Linked DNA regions of Homo sapiens: regions 2, 3 and 4 are each linked to region 1. The links are contacts of gene promoters, found by promoter capture Hi-C in blood cells and fetal thymus (Javierre and others, 2016). All regions are on one chromosome and are shown on one strand. The core of a region is centred on a gene start or on the middle of the fragment in contact, and the rest is flanking DNA. Distances in the headings are between cores, read along the strand shown. Region 1 holds the start of ATAD2B (ATPase family AAA domain containing 2B). Region 2 overlaps MFSD2B (MFSD2 lysolipid transporter B, sphingolipid). Region 3 holds the start of MFSD2B (MFSD2 lysolipid transporter B, sphingolipid). Region 4 overlaps ATAD2B (ATPase family AAA domain containing 2B).

The links. The method cuts DNA at HindIII sites, captures the fragments that hold promoters and counts their contacts. A CHiCAGO score of 5 or more calls a contact.
Region 2: a contact is called between a fragment that was not itself captured here and the fragment with the promoter of ATAD2B in region 1, in 1 of 17 cell types (megakaryocytes). The highest score is 5.2, in megakaryocytes.
Region 3: the fragment with the promoter of MFSD2B here is called in contact with the fragment with the promoter of ATAD2B in region 1 in 2 of 17 cell types (megakaryocytes and erythroblasts); the score reaches 10.5 in megakaryocytes.
Region 4: a fragment that was not itself captured here is called in contact with the fragment with the promoter of ATAD2B in region 1 in 7 of 17 cell types (megakaryocytes, naive B cells, endothelial precursors and 4 more); the score reaches 9.5 in megakaryocytes.

The regions. Positions count from the first base shown.
Region 1 is chr2:23,925,119-23,929,977 of GRCh38, forward strand. It overlaps ATAD2B (ATPase family AAA domain containing 2B), which reads right to left and starts at 2,005. Exons shown (of 28, transcript NM_017552.4): 1 at 1,437-2,005. The coding sequence starts at 1,652. It also overlaps a transcript of UBXN2A not described here. RefSeq lists enhancers at 672-921, 1,020-1,938, 1,132-1,181, 1,939-2,855, 2,442-2,531 and silencers at 1,662-1,741, 1,942-2,271. The HindIII fragment of the contact is 2,488 bases long and covers 13-2,500 here.
Region 2 is chr2:24,024,928-24,029,356 of GRCh38, forward strand. It overlaps MFSD2B (MFSD2 lysolipid transporter B, sphingolipid), which reads left to right. Exons shown (of 14, transcript NM_001346880.2): 14 at 505-1,848. The coding sequence ends at 529. It overlaps WDCP (WD repeat and coiled coil containing), which reads right to left. Exons shown (of 4, transcript NM_025203.3): 4 at 4,420-4,429. Among named protein-coding and RNA genes, the nearest start is that of MFSD2B, 17 kb to the left of the region's middle. The HindIII fragment of the contact is 2,162 bases long and covers 530-2,691 here.
Region 3 is chr2:24,008,709-24,013,210 of GRCh38, forward strand. It overlaps MFSD2B (MFSD2 lysolipid transporter B, sphingolipid), which reads left to right and starts at 1,377. Exons shown (of 14, transcript NM_001346880.2): 1 at 1,377-1,484. The coding sequence starts at 1,389. The HindIII fragment of the contact is 4,987 bases long and covers 1-3,001 here.
Region 4 is chr2:23,813,876-23,818,827 of GRCh38, forward strand. The region is part of intron 17 of ATAD2B (ATPase family AAA domain containing 2B); the gene reads right to left. Among named protein-coding and RNA genes, the nearest start is that of ATAD2B, 110 kb to the right of the region's middle. The HindIII fragment of the contact is 967 bases long and covers 2,956-3,922 here.

The DNA of each region.
Region 1 (4,859 bases), core at 755-3,254:
AGTAGGTCAAGAAGCTTGAACATGTTTGGAATAGTTTCCACCGAAAGCCTCGTCTTCAAAGTACTTATTCTCAACAGTTTGCACAACTTTCAGATTTAACCTTATTTCAACCTAAGAGAGCTGTAAGCCCCCAAAATAGTCTATTAAATAGGACGTTATAATGCCCAAAATTTTATCAAAGAAAAGCCAAAACGATTTTCAAAGATATAATAAAAATATTTCAGAGTAGTATGGTAAAATATTCCTGTCTCTGCCTAGATCCATTCTGTTAGTGTCAAAACAGTGTAAGACACAAAGAAAAGCACACACAAACCGCGATCTTGTAGACCCCTAGAACATAAAATATTGCTTTCCCCCAATAAGAACCACAAAATGGTGTGGAATTAAAGGAGCATTTTAAATGAACAGCTTTTTCCAGCCAAATTACTTAGCAAGTCAACCTCTTTTAGACAGAAGCAATACACTCTTCTCTGAATTCAGAAACAATCTCATAGTAAAACAAACGTGTCAATTCCTTTAAAACAATAAATATCTGTGCTTAGCTTTATAATGTAGGTAATAAAATTTCAAGATCTTTCAATCAGTTTTTTAATTCAATCACCAGCGTCTTTAAATGTCATTTTTGCAACTGCATGACTATGGTGTTCATTCACCTTTTGTAATATAGTCCCATAACAAAAATGTAGACACCCAAGAAACCACACAGTTTTGGCATGATGGTGCTGACTATCCGAAACATTCCACTTGTTTCTTTCGACGTGCTCCTTCTGTGACCTGAAAGCTCTGGTTCCTACTAGCACCTTGGTGAGCTAGCTGGCTGGTTCCCCAGCTATAATATCATGTTTGATCTCTCCTGCCTGGAGAGGCGATAGCGTTGATTTTGTTTTTAAAGTTGGTGTCAGAGCAGCTACAAACTTTTTTCAGCATCCCTGCCTGGCTGCCAACTGGAGCTCTCTGTTCACTTCCTCACCAACTTGAACCACCCCCAAACTGAGAGTAAGCTGGAGTTAGACAGCGGCAGGAACTGACACACTTTCAAGAAGGGTTTGACACCGCAGAAAACTTTCACTTCTCCAACCCTTCCACCCAGGGGCTCTGGCCCTTCGCTCTTGCTTCCCCGCTAGAATTCCCCTCTGGGGCAGGACAAGGACACGGACAGCAGATCGTTCGAATGACGCCGAAAGGGACCCCCAAAGCCCTCTCCCCTGGACTCAAGGGCTGTTCTTCACACAAAAGAGCCGGGCCAGCTTGAAAAGCAAAGGGGCCAGCGTCGCGGCCCTTCTCTGGGTGCCACCCTCCACCGCGCCCGCAGACCCTGTCTCCAGCCGCCCGAGCGGTCTCCACTGTAGGCTTCCTACCCCCAACCCGGCCAGACAAAGCCCCGGCAGCAGGGCCGGCACTTCCGAGCCTCCGGACTCGGGACGCCGCGCTCTTACCCTGGCCTCATCCAGAGTGACGCCGGCGCCACCGCTTCCCCCGGCTTTGGCGGCGGGGCAGCTGGCGGCGCGGGTCTTGGAGGAGCGGGTCCGAGAGGAGATGAAATGGCTGCTGCCTCCGGTCGCCCCAGGCTCTGCTCCGGCCCCAGGCCCAGGCCCGGGACCAGGAGACTTGGACCCGAGAAGGCGGAGAGAGCTCTTCCGGGTGTTCACCATGGTCCAGCCAGGGGGACGGAGTCCACGCCGCGCCCGGGAGAGCCGAGCAAGGCCGGCCCGCCGGCCGGTCAGTCAGGGCCAGCGGAGCCGAGCCGGGCAATGAGAGACGAGCCGGCCCGGAGCGTGCGGAGCGCAGACGAGCACAAGAGAGAGCCGGGCAGAGGAAGGGAAGTCGGCGTGAGCAGGCGGCGTGCGGGAAGCGGGGGCGGTGCTGCAGACCGGCAGCACAGACACTCCGCCGGCTTCGCCCTCCTCAGCGGGAGCCGAGCGGAGCCGCCATTTCTACCCCTTTCTCTCCCGTTCTCGCTCTCGAGCTCCGTGCGTCAAGGCTCCAGCGCCGCAGGGCCAACGAGACCGCTTCCGGCCGCAGCCACGGCGGGGCGCTGCGAAGCCGGCCAGCCCTTCCCGGCTGCTCGCTCCTCTCCCTGCCGCCTCCAGCTGCCCCGCCCCCGGCGCGGCGTCAGCGCTCGGCGGCCGGGGAGCGACGCTCTAGGCTGTCAGCTCGGTGGTTTCCAGCTCTCCCCGACCGCAGGGCTGGGGCGACCAGAAAAGCCAGACTAATCAGGACGAGTTCGGGCGTGGAATTGGGCCTGAAGCCCTCATGCCCAGCCAGGCCTGAATGCCCCAGACCCCACCGTCACCCCCGTGGCCTGGATGGAGCAGGGGACGGCCGGCGAAGGCGCGGGGTGGAAGGGGAGCGGCGACGAAGGCGCGAGGAGCTGACTGGGAATCCCCAAGCTACCCGAGGCAAGACACTGAACTTGAGTCGCACTTTTCATGCCTGTAGAAATGAGAATGACAGCTGTGATAAAAAAAAAATTCATCTGGGCGGTATCTGGAACTTGGTAAGCTTAAGAAGAGAAGGGGGGGGGGAAACACCATGCTAGAACTCTGCGTTTTTAAACAAAGCGAGGCAGGGTCGTTTTCTATCCCCTTAGCCAGATCTAAGGCGGAGCCAAAGAATGAGTACCCTGTAAGAGCCGCCTCTATCGCCGCCCCCTGCCCCCGGCCCGCTGAAGAATTAAGAATACAAAAAGCTGAACCCACAGATAAAGCATTTGCAATTTAACTTCCAAAGAAAAAAAAATTAAGCCACACAATTCATATGAAAAGCTCTGCTGTAGGCCGGGTGCGGTGGCTCAAGCCTGTAATCCCAGTACTTTGGGAGGCCGGGGTGGGTGGATCACCTGAGGTCAAGAGTTCTAGATCAGCCTTACCAACATGGTGAAACCCTGTCTCCACTAAAAATACAAAAAATCGATGGGTGTTGTGGTGGGCACCTGTAATCCCAGCTGCTCGGGAAGCTGAGGCATGAGAACCACTTGAACCCAGAAGATGGAGGTTGCAGTGAGCCGAAATCACGCCACTGCACTCCAGCCTGGATGACAGAGCCAGACCCTGTCTCAGAAAAAAAAAAAAGAAGAAAGAGAGAGAGAAAGGAAGAAAGAAAGGAAAGAAAGAAAGAAAAAGAAAGAAAGAAAAGCTCTGCTGTAAAGTAGGAATTAGGTTCATTTCAAAAATTCACAGTACAGGCCGGGCTTACGCCTGTAATCCCAGCACTTTGGGAGGCCAAGGCGGGCGGATCACTTGAGGTCAGGAGTTCGAGACCAACCTGGCCAACATGGTGAAACCCCCTCTCTACTAAAAATACAAAAAATTAGCCAGGTGTCGTGGTGCATGCCTGTAATCCCAGCTACTTGAGAGGCTGAGGCAGGAGAATCGCTTGAACCCGGGAGGCAGAGATTGCAGTAAGCCAAGATCGTGCCACTGCACTCCAGCCTGGGTGACAGAATGAGACTCCATCTCAAAAAAAAAAAAATAAAATTCACAGTACATTAGACATAGCCTACTGTTTATTGGGCAGGAGTTTATTAAACTGTTTATTAAACTAAGAAAAATTGAAAACTCAGGAAAAGTCCTGAAAATGACCAAATGGCATCAAACTTAGAGCATTCTGGCCATCTAAGCTCCCAATCATTCCAAAAAACTGTACAACACTGGAAATGACAATTTTTTTTGTTTGGGAACCAGTATGGATTCCAGAATAGATAAATCCTTCTGACACAATTTGCATACCACATCCTCTCCTGGACACTTCACCTGCCACTTAGAGTTGATGTCTTAATGGGTGGGATTCCTCATAATGGAACCATACCTGGATTTTCCTGGGTCAAGTAGCTATCACATCACTGAGCAGCATAAACAAGTATCAATTCCTGTGGAAAGAGGCTGGTTTGGGCCAGGCACTGTAGCTCACACCTGTATTCTCAGCACTTGGAGGCCGAGGCGGGAGGATGGCTTGAGACCAGGAGTTGGAAACCAGCCTGGGCAACATAGTGAGATCCTCTCCCTGCCAAAAAGAAAGAGAGAGAGACAGGGTCTCACTCTGTCACCCAGGCTGGAGTGCAGTGGCACAACCACAGTTCACTGTAGCCTTGACCTCCCAGGCTCAAGCAATCCCCCTGCCCCAGCCTCCCTGGTAGCTGAAACTACTGGGTGTGGTGCCTGTGGTCCCAGCCACTCCTGAGACTGAGGCGCCATCAGTCACTTGAGCCCAGGATGTCCAGGCTGCAGTGAGCCAAGTTCATGCCATTGTACTTTAGCCTGGGTGACAGAGTAACACCCTGTCTCAAAAAAATATTTAAAAAAAAAAAAAAAGGGTAGGGTGCAGTGGCTAATGCCTGTAATCTCAGCACTTTGGGAGGCAGAGGCGGGCGGATCACTTGAGGTCAGGAGTTCGAGACCAGCCTGACCAACATGGTGAAACCCCATTTCTACTAAAAATACAAAAAATTAGCCAGGCATGGTGGCAGACACCTATAATCCCAGCTATTTGGGAGGCTGAGGCAGGATAATCGCTTGAACCCGGGAGGCGGAGGTTGCAGTGAGCTGAGATTGCACCACTGCACTCCAGTCTGGGCAACAGTGCAAAACTCCATCTCAAAAAAAAATAAATAAATAAAAAGGCTAGTGTCCTGCAGAGGTGTGTGGTATGCAAATTATATACAAAGGATTTGTGTGCTTTCCTCCTTTTTTGTGTGTGTTTATTTGTTTTTGTAGTCCTAAATTGGGAAGGCCAAGTTACCATAACCTATACCATTTACTATCAACAAATGTTAACTTTATTTATTTATTTGAGATGGAGTCTTGCTCTGTCACTCAGGCTGGAGTACAGTGGTACTATCTGGGCTCACTGCAACCTCCGCC
Region 2 (4,429 bases), core at 361-2,860, 99 kb after region 1:
TATGGGAACCTTGAAGGCTGAGGCTGGCTGTTTTATTCCTTTTTGTATCCCAAGAGCCCAGCACAGAGCCTGAGGCCAAGCAGGTACTCAGGAATCACTGCTGCAGCATCACCACGTCTGGTCCAGCAGACGTGCACAAGCACCCAATGTTCACACAAGTAAGGTCCACGAGCATGCACATATCATGCAGGCCCACGCGGGACAGGCAGTGGGTGGCCTTGTCATCAGCCACTCCCTGCTGAGGGTGACGGCCTCGGGCTCTGCAGCAGAGAGATACTGAGGGCATGCTTCCCAGTCAGGGAAGGCCAGGCGGATGGGGAACTGCTTGATGACACTTGGAGAAACAGGGTTGTAGCTCATCTACAGGACTTGGGAGGGGAGGAGTTGAAGAGGAGTTGCTGGGAAGACAAGGAGCAGCCACCAAACCTTCCGCGGGCTTCTGCGGCAGGACAGAGGGCCCACACCACTTCCATCCTTCTCCTTGGCTTCCTTCCCTTCCCACAGGAGGACCAGCTACAGCCTGGCCTAAAGCTTAGGAGGGCGACTGTGAATGGACACAGGAGCCAGCACCCTCGGGGCCTGACATCGCCCTCCTCAGCCCTCCAGCACCTGGTCTGGCAGTTTAGTATGTGACCTTTCTCCCTGGGATGTGGAGTCTTCGGCAACGTGTCCTGAAGGGACTGGCCCGCACTCCAGGACCCCACTTGGCATTTCTTGTCTGTTGCCTTCAGACTATCTCAGATAGGCCTGTGCCCCTGACTAGCCCAGTAGCACTTGTCTCTAGAAAAAGGAAGCTCCTGCCCAACCTGGCTTGTGGACCAGTAATATCTGTGGCCTACCACCCATTCAAGAAAACGTTACAGCCGGCTCACTGCAAAATCCGCCTCCCGGGTTCACGCCATTCTCCTGCCTCAGCCTCCCGAGTAGCTGGGACTACAGGTGCCCGCCACCACGCCCAGCTAATTTTTGTATTTTTAGTAGAGACGGGGTTTCACCGTGTTAGCCAGAATGGTTTCGATCTCCTGACCTCGTGATCCGCCCCGCCTCAGCCTCCCAAAGGCATGAGCCACCGTACTCGGCCTGCCCAGGCTGGTCTTAAACTCCTGGCCTCAGGTGATCCTACTGCCTCAGCCTCCTGAGTAGCTGGGATTACAGACACAGCCCCCGTTCCCAGCTCTAGCATTTCTTAAGGACAAAATTGGTGTGTAAGTAACAGGAAATTCACATTATGCTGTACTCATTCTCTAATATCACAGCCATGTTAGAACAAATTTGGGTTTTCAAAACAAGCGTAACTGAACAGAGTATATATATGTATGTATATAAATATATAGAAATCCTAAATGGTCCCTGTGACATAAGAAATACACATTTGGTCTCTGCCCCAGGTTCCTGGCACAGAGCTTCTAAAATGCTAGTAACTTCCTGAGTGGTAGGGGTGAGGGGAACATCTTTTGTTATACATAAGAAGCCCTTTTCAAACAGATCTGAGTTTATGCTAATGATGTGACTGGCAGAGGATGGGGGCTGGTTGCCAGAGAAACCAACCATGTGATTAGAAGGTTGAAACTTTCAGCCTTATCTTCCTACCGGGAGGGGACAGGGGCTGAAGACTGAGCTCATCATCAATGATTTAATCAATTGTGCCCATGTAATGGAGCCTCCACTTCCAAACGAAGGGTTTCAGAGAGCTTCTAGGTTGGTGAACACATCCATGTACCAGGAGGTCTACCCCACTCCACGGGGACAGAAACTCTTGTGTAGGGGACCCTTTTAGATTTCATTCTATATACCTCTTCAGCTGGCTGTTCATTTTATAATCAACCAATAAATGTTAAGTAAAGTGTTTCTCTGTGTTCTATGCATTATAGGAAATTATCGAATCTGAGGAGGGTTTTGTGGGAATCCCCTATTTGCAGCCAAGCTGGAGAGAAGTGTGTATCGCCTGGAGACCCACTACTTGCAACTGGTATTGGAAGTGGGGATCAGCCTGTTGGACTGAGCCCGTAACCTATTGGGTCTGCACTAACTCTGGGTAGTATCAGAACTGAATGAAATTGTAGGGTACCCAGTTATGTCCATAGAGAACTGAAGAATCGCTTGGTGTAGAAAAACCCACACATCTGATGTCAGAAGTGTTCTGTGGTTACAGAAAAAAATAGTTTCTCCTTTTAGTCTCATAAATATTAAAGGATTAAATAAATATTTAAAAATATTCCCACAAAGGGCCAGGGGCGGTGGCTCACGCCTGTAATCCCAGCACTTTGGGAGGCCGAGGCGGGCGGATCACGAGGTCAGGAGATCGAGACCATCTTGGCTAACATGGTGAAGCCCCATCTCTACTAAAAATACAAAAAATTAGCCGGGCGTTGTGGCAGGCGCCTGTAGTCCCAGCTACTCGGGAGGCTGAGGGAGGAGAATGGCATGAACCTGGGAGGCAGAGCTTGCAGTGAGCTGAGATCGCGCCGCTGTACTCCAGCCTGGGTGACAGGGCGAGACTCCATCTCAAAAAAAAAAAATAAAATAATAATAATAATAATAATAATATTCCCACAAAGAAAACATGAGACCAAATGATATTTCCAAGTTCTAGCAAACTTTCAATCAAGGATCATTCCTACCTCACACAAACTCCTCCACAGAGCAGAAAAAGAAGGCACACTCTGCTACTCATTCTATCAGGCCAGAGTAAGCTTCTTACCAAAACCAGCCAAGCACATTAAAAAGGAAAGAGGCCAGGTGTGATGGCTCAAGCCTGTAATCCTGGGACACTGGGAGGCCAAGGTGGGAGGGTCACTTGAGCCCAGGATTTCAAGAAAAGTCTGGGCAACAAAGGGAGACCCTATCTCTACAAAAAATTTTAAAAAAATTAGCTGGGTGTGGTGGCACACACCTGTAGTCCCAGCTACTTGCGGGGCTAAGGTAGGAGGACTGCTTGAGGCCAGGAGGTTGAGGCTGCAGTGAGCTGTGATAGTGCCACTCACTCTAGCCTGGGCAACAGAGCAAGCCCCTGTCTCAAAAATAAAAAAAGAATTTACGGGCTAATCTTACCCATTAACAGGGAAAGGAAGAATCTTAAACAAAATAATAGCAAAATGAGTAGCAACGTATAAAAAATAAATACACCATGAACATACTGGGTTTATTCCAAGAATGCAAAGTTTAGCATTAAAAAACCTATCGGCTGGGTGTGGTGGCTCACGCCTGCAATTCCAGCACCTTGGGAGGCCGAGGCGGGAACACGAGGTCAGGAGTTCAAGACCAGCATGGCCAAGATGGTGAAACCCCATCTCTACTAAAACTACAAAAATTAGCCAGGCACAGTGGCAGGCGCCTGTAATCCCAGCTACTCAGGAGGCTGAGGCAGGAGAATCGCCTGAACCCAGGCGGCAGAGGTTGCAGTGAGCCAAGATCACACCACTGCACTCCAGCCTGGGCGACAGAGAGAGACTCTGTCTCAAAAAAAGAACACAAAAAACCTGGCAAATGAAATTTACCACACAGAGCAATGCAGAGCATGAAGTCAGGAACTCTGCAGAGGGACCCCTCAATTATCCAGCAGAGGCTGGGCTCAGTGGCTCATGCCTGTAATCCCAGCACTTGGGAGGCTGAGGTAGGCAGATCACTTGAGATCAGGAGTTTGAGACCAGCCTGGCCAATATGGTGAAACCCCATCTCTACTAAAAATACAAAAATTAGATGGGTGTGGTGGCGGGCACCTGTAATCCGAGCTACCCAGGAGGCTGAGACAGGAGAATGGTTTGAACCCGGGAGTTGGAGGTTGCAGTGAGCCAAGATTGTGCCAATGCACTCCAGCCTGGGCGACAGAGTAAGACTCCGTCTCAAAAAACAACAACAACAACAACAAAAACCCCCCAAACAAATAAAATTATCCAGCAGAATACTGATTAAAGACATAAATATGAAGACAAAACTTCCATAAAAAGGAAGATAGGTAAATGTGTGGCTTCCTTAAAATTAAAATGTTTGTCCAACACACAAGGTATAAAGAAAGAGGAGGCCGGCAGGAGTTCGAGACTATCCTGGCCAACATGGTGAAACCCCGTCTCTACTAAAAATACAAGCATTAGCCAGGCGAGGTGGTGCATGACTGTAGAACATTAAACAATCCTTTGAAGAATTTAGCTCTTTTCTCCCTGCCTCCAAAGCCAGCAAATATGAGATTATTTTCTATTGTTCCAGTGACTGTAATAATAGCAGAGGTCAAGGAAACATCTCTTGTATGAGAGTTGTCATGGAATCAGATTTGTTGTAAAGAACCATTTATATTCTGGACTGTCCACCAGAAGAAGGAATACAGACAACATATGCATATATAACTGCAAGATTATTGCCGGTTCCTCTATAGCAGCAATAATCGCAAAGAAAATACTACCAAAACATCCAAAACAGCCACAATAACCATTAG
Region 3 (4,502 bases), core at 127-2,626, 83 kb after region 1:
CTCCGCCTCCCGGGTTCAAGCGATTCTCCTGCCTCAGCCTGCCGAGTAGCTGGGATTACAGGCATGAGCCACCGTGCCTGTCCCTTGCTCCTGTTTTTTCATAAGTTTTACATTCTAGGTCTATGATGCATTTTTAGTTAATGTGTACCCCTGTTACTGGTGGAAGGTATCTGAGTCACGTGGCACCAAAATATGTCAGCAGGAGTGAATCTATATGGGTCTGCAGCAACCTCAGTTCCTGCCTCCTCAGAAGAAAGAATTCCACTGAGGGGCATAAGGCAGAAGGAGAGACTGAGGCAAGTTTTAGAGCAGGAATAAAAGTTTATTAAAAAGCTCTACAGCAGAAATGGAAGGAAGGAAAGTACACTTGGAAGAGGGCCAAGCGGGTGACCTGAAAAAGAAGCGCACAGTTTGACCTTTTGACCTGGGGTCTTATGCATTGGCATACTTCTGGGGTCTTGCATCCCTTCTCCCCTGATTCTTCCCTTGGGAGGCCTGCCTGCATGGGCAGTGGTCTGCCAGCACTTGGGAGGGGAGTGTGCACACTGTGTATACTGGAGTTGTACCCATGCTCACTGGAGGCGTTCTTCCCTTACCAGTCCGGTGTCCTTCGAGGGTCACATGTCAGTTAAACTCCGCAATTTGTGTAAGCCCACTTGCCCAGCTCCTGAGATCTTACCGAGAAGCTGATCACCAGTTTCAGGTTTTCTCTATCTATTGGGAGACTGCCTTTCCCTGGCCCCGCTGGATCAATGATCATTTTAGAGGGAGCATAACAACCGCCTGACTGTCGCCTGATGGTTGCCTGACGTACCTGGTTGGAAGCGTGGCCCTCTCCTGCCCTTTTCGAGGCTGACTAGCTACCTGCTGTCACCCCCCTTCCCTTTTAAGGACTTTTCTGGAATGTTGGCCTGTGCCACCTGCTTTTATTCGCTGGCCAGAACTTAGTTACTGGCCATCCCCGTGGTCTGTATAGGAGACTCGACAATGTATATTTCAGGCGTTGGGCATCATGTGTAGCCGGCGGAATGCCTGTTCAGCCATGGTCCAGCCTGAACGAGCGGGCCTCTTGCTTCATTTTGCAGGGGAGCTGCTGCTTGCCCGCGGTCACCCCAGCGGTCTGGCGGAGCCCTTAGCGCGCAGGGCCGCCGTCTGCGGGCGCTCACGCCCCCGGGGATCCACCCCAAGGAGAACGGTCCTGAGGGCCTGCCGGGCCTTTCCCCCCGCGGATTTTGGTTCTTCGCTGTTTCCCTTTGGGGTGCCCTTCGCGGTTTCTGCGTTTCCCCCGCGTTGCCAGCAGCCACTCGCGCCGCGCCCCTAGCCCAGAACCGCCCCTCCCAAGGGCGATAACCCCGAGGGCAACGGCCGCGGGCGGCGCTGCGGTGGCAATGGCGGCGCCCCCTGCACCAGCCGCCAAGGGGTCCCCGCAGCCGGAGCCGCACGCCCCAGAGCCCGGCCCGGGGAGCGCCAAGCGAGGGCGAGAGGTGAGCGGGGCGGCGGGGACCGGGAAGGGGCTGCGTCCTCGGGGAGCTCCAGGGCGTCGCCTCGCAGCCCCTTTTCCAGCTGGGGGCAGCCCGGAGGGGCTCGGCCCAAACCTGCCAGCTCAGGGGCTGCCCTCGCGGGGTTACACGGCTGGGAGCGGGGAGGCTGGTAGGTGCCGGCGCCGGAAAGAGACTAGGACGGGAAGCCTAGCCCTAGCCAAGGAAGTAACTTGGGGATGCGTGGTCATTGCTGTCCTGATTCCCGGCTTAGGGGTCTTGTCCGTGCCACCGCAGGTCCTCCCGGGGTCCCCGAGCTCTGGGCAGGCAGGGCTTTCTGAAGCGCCTGGGGAGGCTGCGTCCTTCCCGACCTCAGGCAGCTGCTGTGGCCTCGGCCTCCCTCCCAGACCCTGGCCTCGCCCAGGCACCAGGCTCCCCTTGGAGGCAGCCTCAGGGAAGGTCCTGGCCATGGGCTCCGACAAGAAGGGAGGAGGGCAGGTGGGAGCGGCGGGGTCTTCGGGGCCCCTTGTCCCTTGCCCGATGCCGCCGGGCCGTGCTGGCCAGTGGGGCTGTGCTGGACGGAGCAAGGGGCCTGGGGCTTCCTGGGCCTCACTGAACGCGCCTGCTCCCTGCTCGTGCCCAGGGCATTCTGTGGCCTCCCCTGACCACCTCAGCCCCCAGCCTGTTCAGGGCTTCCTACGAGGCACCTGGGAGCACAGGATTGCATCCCACAAGAAAGTGAGGTGAGATGAAGGGGCTCTCCGGGGACTCTCACTTCCCAGGGAAACTTAGAAATTCAGGGTGAGATTAACAGCAAGAGGGAAACACTCGCATTGCTGATGAAGTTCCGGCGTGGAATCCTCTTACGACTCTCCGAGGGGTGGCAGCCCCGGTCACTCCAAGGAGACCGAGGTGCCCTGCCCTGGGTCACGCAGCTAGAGATAGCAGGGCTGCGCCCCTCGCCCGGAGCCGCCCCTCCCAAGGGGCTTCTCCTTGTACAGCTCACTGTACAGCTGTACCGGGCTTTTATGACTTTCGGTAAAACTGTCATCCTCAAGACGGCAAGATGGGATCATATCCCTGGCTTCACTTGGAAGTTCTTTCTAAAGTTCTAAAAACTTGCTAGGCCTGTTTTGGGGGATACAAGAGTCCCCATTAGGGGGAGAGGGGGACTGTCACGTTGAATTCTGCCTGTTCTTAAAGTTTTCTGGAAGCTGAAATGATGTTCACACAAATGTCAGAAAAGAATCATCCTGCCCCCAGTGTGGTTTTCCCCTGTGGGTAGGAAGAGTGTGCAAAGTGTGATAAACCCTTATCTGGGGAGACCTTCCCTTCACAAGAGCCTGCTGGGGTGTCCTGCAAGATGTGGAAATGGGTGAAGCCATGTCATCTCCACTCCCTCCAGCCCCCAGCAAACGATGAGAAAAGAGCCCAGCTTCTTCCAAAGAAACAGCACTTTACACAGGGTCTTCATGGCCATTTATTGCTTCAACGGATATATACTAAGCACCTACTGTATACCAAGCTTTGTTCTAGGTACTGGAAACACCATGATAAATAAAAGGTGGAGTTCATGCTCTCAGAGAGCTTACATTCCTGTAGGGAGAGGCAGGAACTAAATGAAAATATAGCAGGCGGTAAGTACAACTGAGAGAGGTGAGAGGTTAGGGAATGCCTCTTGGAGGAGGTGACATTTAAGCTGGTGACATCAAACCAGAATGACAAGGAGTCACCTTCCAGGCAGAGGAATGGGAAGGGCAAAGGCCCTGAGGCAGCAACAGACTTGATGATTTTGAGGAATAGGAAGGAGCCCGGCGTGGCTGAAGGAGAGCTATTTGAGGTGAGGTGGGTAGGGGGCCGACTGGGTGGACTCCTTAGCCATGATCAGGACTTGGAGTTTTATTCAAACTGCAATGGTATTGACTGAATACCATGGATCTGGAAACAAACAAACAAACAAACAAAACACACACACACACACACACACACACACAAAAACAGACAAAAAAACCCTGCAATAGCAAGCCATTGGAGAGTTTTAATCAGAGAGGAGATGGGATCTGATTATTTATTTATTTATTTATGACTGAGTCTCTGTCACCCAGGCTGGAGTGCAGTGGTGTGATATTTGCTCACTGCAACCTCTGCCTCCCTGGTTCAAGCAATTCTCTTGCCTCAGCCTCCTGAGTAGCTGGGATTACAGGCGGCCACTATGCCTGGCTAATTTTTGTGTTTCTAGTAGAGATGGGGTTTTGCCATGTTGGGCAGGCTGGTCTTCAACTCCTGGGCTCAAGCAATCCACCTACCTCGGCCTCCCAAAGTGCTGGGTTTATAGGGATGAGCCACTGTGCGATTTATGTTATTACAAGAGCACTGGCTGCTGGGTGGAGTGGATTGTAGGGAGCAAGGGCAGACACAGAAGCCACTTAGGAGGCATTCACTGATAGACAAGAACTGGAAAGAAGAATAGATGACTCCTAAGTTTGTGGCCTGAGCCACTGAGGGGACCAGCGGTGCCATTTGCTAGGAGCTGGATTAGACAATGGAATGGCCATCAGGAGCTGTATGTAGACCATGCTAAGCTGAGACGCCTGCCAGGCATCCCTGGAGGGCTGTGGGTAGGCAGGCTATGGGTAAATGAGCTATCGCCTCATTTACTCATCGAAGAAACAACTTTGTGAAGTTGGCAGGGATGTTGCATTTGACAGATGAGGAAAACAGGCTTAGAGAGATGATGTGATTTATTCAAGGTCACATAGAGGGGTAGGTGACAAAGGCAGGCTCAAGCCCAGGTCTCCTGACCTGCAGCTTACACGGCCGTGCTGACTCAGTAAATGATGGCGGCTTCAGCAGGAAGCCCAGGGTAAGATGTCCAGAAGAACTTCCCCCCTGGAAATGTTTAGAGGTCAGGGTTTAGGATCTTTTTTCTCTTCGTCTCACTTCCTCTTAGGATGACATGGGGGCAAAATGGGGCTGAGAGGTTGCTGGAAAAGCCCTGAAGACATCACAGAGACTCAGGATGTT
Region 4 (4,952 bases), core at 2,189-4,688, 110 kb before region 1:
TTTTAATTCATAATAATCTAAAAACCTCTGTAACCCAAAAATTATAATCTGAACCAAATAGCAAACAACCAAATGGCATAAAGAATTTGCTACAGAGCAGGGCACGGTCGAACATGCCTGTAATCCCAGCTACTTGGGAGGCTGAGTTGGGAGGCTCACTTGAGCTCAGGAGTTCAAGACTACCCTGGGCGACATAGACATCCTATCTCAGAAACAAAATTATTGAAAAAACATAAAAAGAAAATTTAATAAAAAGAATTTGTCATAAACAGGAATGGTTCTTAATGTATAAAGAGTTTATATGCATAGTTTTCAAAAACCTCCATGGGCAAAGGACGTAAAACAAGACAATTCAAAGAGAAAATAGAAATAGGAAACTTTTTAAAATGTTTATTTAATTATATAACTATAGAATGCCTCCTATGCTGAATGCCTTAGCCCTAAGTATCAAACAATACCAGTGTTATCATAGAGCTCATAACTGAGTGGTATTTAGTAAAAAAGTTAATATACAAATTACCATAGTTCAATGTGATTAATAAGGGGTACTGTTTAAGTACACAGTGCTATGGAAGATACCAATTAGAGACTCATAGAAGGCATTCCTGGAAAAGTGTTACCAAGGCAGAAACCCAAAAGATTGGAGGTACAAGAGATGAATTCCAAGACTGCAAACAGGATGTGCAAAGGACCAACAGTTAAAAAGAACATGGCTCTTTGGGGTAACTAATACAGTTCATACAGCCAGTTTTGGTTTTGTTTGTTTGTTTTGAAGTACTGGGGACAAGTTGTGGAGGGTACAGTAAAGGTACTAGGGTGGGGAGAGAAAAAAGAAGGTAAGTTAGACTATGAAGGGCTACAAAGGGTTTTGTAAGCCACGTTAAAAGTTTGGAATGTGGCCTGGCGCAGTGTCTCACACCTGTAATCCCAGCACTTTGGGAGGCCAAGGCGGGCAGATCATGAGGTCAAGAGATCGAGACCATCCTGGCCAACATGGTGAAACCCTGACTCTACTAAAAATACAAAAAAAATTAGCCAGGCGTGGTGGCAGGCACCTGTAATCCCAGCAACTTGGGAGGCTGAGGCAGGAGAATCACTTGAACCTGGGAGGTGGAGGTTGCAGTGAGCTGAGATCACACCATTGCACTCCAGCCTGGGCAAAAAGAATGAAATCCGTCTCCAAAAAAAAAAAAAAAAAGTTTGGAATGTGTACTGAAGACAATGGGGAAGCATTAAGATACTTTAGAGGAACAAGATAATCATATACATGTTTAGGGAAGATAACTCTATCTCAGCATTGTCAGTATGGGAAAGGGTTTTGAAAGAAGGCAAATGAGAGGAAAGATAATCAGGCATCTGCTATAGTAACCCAGGCATGACATGTGAATGACAGTTCAACAAGAATAGTGTTAGAGAAAGAAGGAATAGCCTGCGATGAGACTTACTTAGTAAGAAAAATCAGAAAGACTTGGTCATTGACTAGACAAAGAAAGAAATAAAAGGAAAGAAGTTGAGAATGATGTCAAATTCTAGCTGAGACAACTGAATGAATGATGGCTCATAGGAGTCACAGGAAGAGAAGGGGCGTATGATACAGTCCAGCTATGTACGGAAAGATCCATGGTACAACAAAGGGGAGATGGGCCACTGGTCAGGGTCTGAAGCTCAAGAGCAATCTAGGCTTGAGAACAAAATGGTAGTCATTAACACAGAGATTTTTAAAAAATGAGAAAATATAAATGAAAATAATGATGGACATCTTTTATCTGTTAGATTAATAAACCAAAAATTAATTGTAATGCCCATTATCAATGAGAGGATGGCAAAATTGATATCCTCACAACTAGTGGAAGAAAAGCACAACTTTTCTGAAATTATATGTGATAGATCTAAATATGCCAAAATGTATGCCCAAAAGTATTCAATAACTCACTCCACTCCTAGGGATTCCCCAGCCTCTTACTATCTTCTACATTTTTTCCCCATAGTACTTATCTTCTAACAGTTTATCTATCTAGCAAGCTATTACATTTATTATTTTACTGAATGTCTCCTCTGTTTAAAAATATAAGTTAAATGAGGGCCAGGATCTTACCCTATTTTGTTCACTGACCTACCCCAACTACCCAGGACAATGTCTGGAACATGATGGGCACTTTTACAAAACATTTGAATGAGTGAATGAATATATGAAAGAACAAATGAACAAGTCAACTAAACAAAAAGATATTATATTCATCTATCTGGTTTGTAAAGATTTTAAAAGACAGTGCTCAGAATTGACAATGGTATAAGAAAAATACTACTCTCATACATTAGTATGAGAAATGTAAACTAGTACAAGCCTTCTGGAAAGCAATTTAACAATCTGTGTCAACATGTTAAATGTATACACTCTTTGACACAGCAATTGCAGTTCTTAAAATTTACCTTATGCTTTGAATCAGATAGTGGTGTAAAGATGTATACTTAGAAACAAGTCTATTGTTCATAAAAGAAGAAACTTGAAAACTTCAAATTTTACCAATAAGGGTCTATAAATTATGGAATATCCAAAGTGTAAGATAATATGCAGCTATCTTAAAACAGTCATATTAAACATACACTGACATGAAATAATATTCCCAACATAGTGGATGAAAAAGTAAGTTATATTAACAACTTATAGGAGGATATAATCCAGATAATGTATGGGTCTATACATTATACATGCATAGAGAGGACATGGAAGTGTGGTCACCAAAACTTTAACAAATATTACCTGCAGGTGCTGGGGCTTTAATTTTTACTTTCTTCTTTATGCTCTTCTTTATTACTTGAATTTTCTACAGTGTATATCATCTTTCTAATCAGAAAAAACAAAGCTATTTTCATTTGAAAAACCTCAGAAAATTCTGTTTCTAGTCACCCTTATGGTAATATAAAGTAAGAAAGAAAATTTATTTTCCATCATAAAGCTTCTCTACCAGATTGGTAAACCTTAACTATCTTGACTTCTCCTTTATATTAAATGTAAAAAAGAAAAGGTTTCAACATTGTTTCAGGAGACTATTCCCAGAAATTCACCAGCAATACCCAGGCTAGTGTGACTGAAAACCAGCACTAAAGTTATGCTTTATTCTGGCCGAGCACCTTTTCTTCTGCATTGATCTGTAATGCTAACGTATCTTGCTCAAACAGAAAACTAAACCAACCAAACAAAAAAGACTATATGTTGCCCATACTAAAGGCCTTAATTCTAAAGTGTATGCTTCTTGGAGAGTGTGAAATATATGGCTTAACTTACCTAAAGAAGCAATGCAATTCCCTAGCTACTTATTAAGCTCAGAAATAACTTGGAAAAATATGGTCTTAGGAAACAGCACAGAGTCTGGCTCTGCCACCTGCTAGCAACAGGATCATGGGCAATTTATTTAACTTCTGTGTGCTTCACTTTCCTCATCTATAAAATGAAGATACCACAAATGCAATATGATTGTTAAGGGGCCTATATATATTACTGAATATGAAGCACAGATCTTTACATACCAAGCAAGTATCTAATTTGTAAAAAGCACTCAGATGCAAACTCCCATCCCTTCATAATGAAAAGGACAGCAAATATCACTACTTCTCCTGTGAAACCTTCCCAGACTTCCAGCAGAATTAGTTCTGCTTTCACAGCACTTTCGCCATATTGAAATGTTTGTCACCCCCAACCATGAGACCTTCTCCAAAGTAAGAACTATGTTATATCTTATTCATGCTTATGTTTTCAGCATCTCATACAATGCCTGGCATAGGGTAAACAAAGAAAAATTGGACAAATGGGTAGGTGAATAAAGAAATAAGTGAATAATTATTATTAAAACATCTAAAAAATGCTTATTCTAGCATATAGCTGTCTCATTATTTAATCAAAGTCAAATGAATGAACTAGAAAAGCTTATGTAAAGGAAGCTAAAATTAAACCAATTCTTTCAGAAAAGCTAAAACAAAATGAGCCATACCAATGTTTCACATTAAATCAGTGGCAGGAAATGTCCTCAATAAAAAGTCAAACTTAACACTGTACATGATACTTTCTAATATCAAAATCTATTTCTGTATTCCTTTATTGACGACAATTATCTTATAAAATTAAACACGTCTTTTGATACTTACTTAGTTTCTGCTACTACATAATACAAATCCAAATAACTATAACTGTCAAACACACATAAACACACACACACACACATTACACACACACACACACACACACACATTACACACACACACACACACAGAGAGAGAGAAGGAGGGAGGGAAGAAGAGAGGGAGAGGGAGAGACGGAGGGAGGGAAGAAGAGAGGGAGAGGGAGGGAGGGAAGAAGAGAGGGAGGGAGGGAGGGAAGAAGAGAGGGAGACGGAGGGAGGGAGGGAAGAAGAGAGGGAGGGGGGAGAGAGAGAGAGAGAAAGAGAGAGAGACAGAGAGACACAGACGCACAGGCTAGCCAGGTGAAAAGCAAAAAAAAAAAAAAAAAAAAAAAAATTGGCTTTCCCATAACTATCAATAAAACAAATCTGTAAAATGCTGGAATAGCCTATAAAAAAACTTCCCCAAGAGCATAAAAGAAAGGATCTGGAGAAGAAGAAAAAAACTTACAAAGAGTTTGCTATTAAAGAACATATGAAGAAAAAAAGAGGAGATGAAAGTAATTTAGGCTCATTTTTAAAAATGAAAAACAAGAAAGGGTTATCAATGCAAATAATCAAATCAACATTTCACCAAAATCTACATGGGAAAACTTCAAGTTGGAGACTTAAATTTGTTCAAAATATTAAAAGTACACACAATCCGGCCTCTTCTAATAGAAGTGCTATTAGATCTACCTGACTGAAGCTTTATGGTCCTTCAACTATGGGGCTAATTATGTAAATGCAAGTAAAGATGCTGTTAGTATTTGAAAACTATTTGGCCTCTTAATTTAA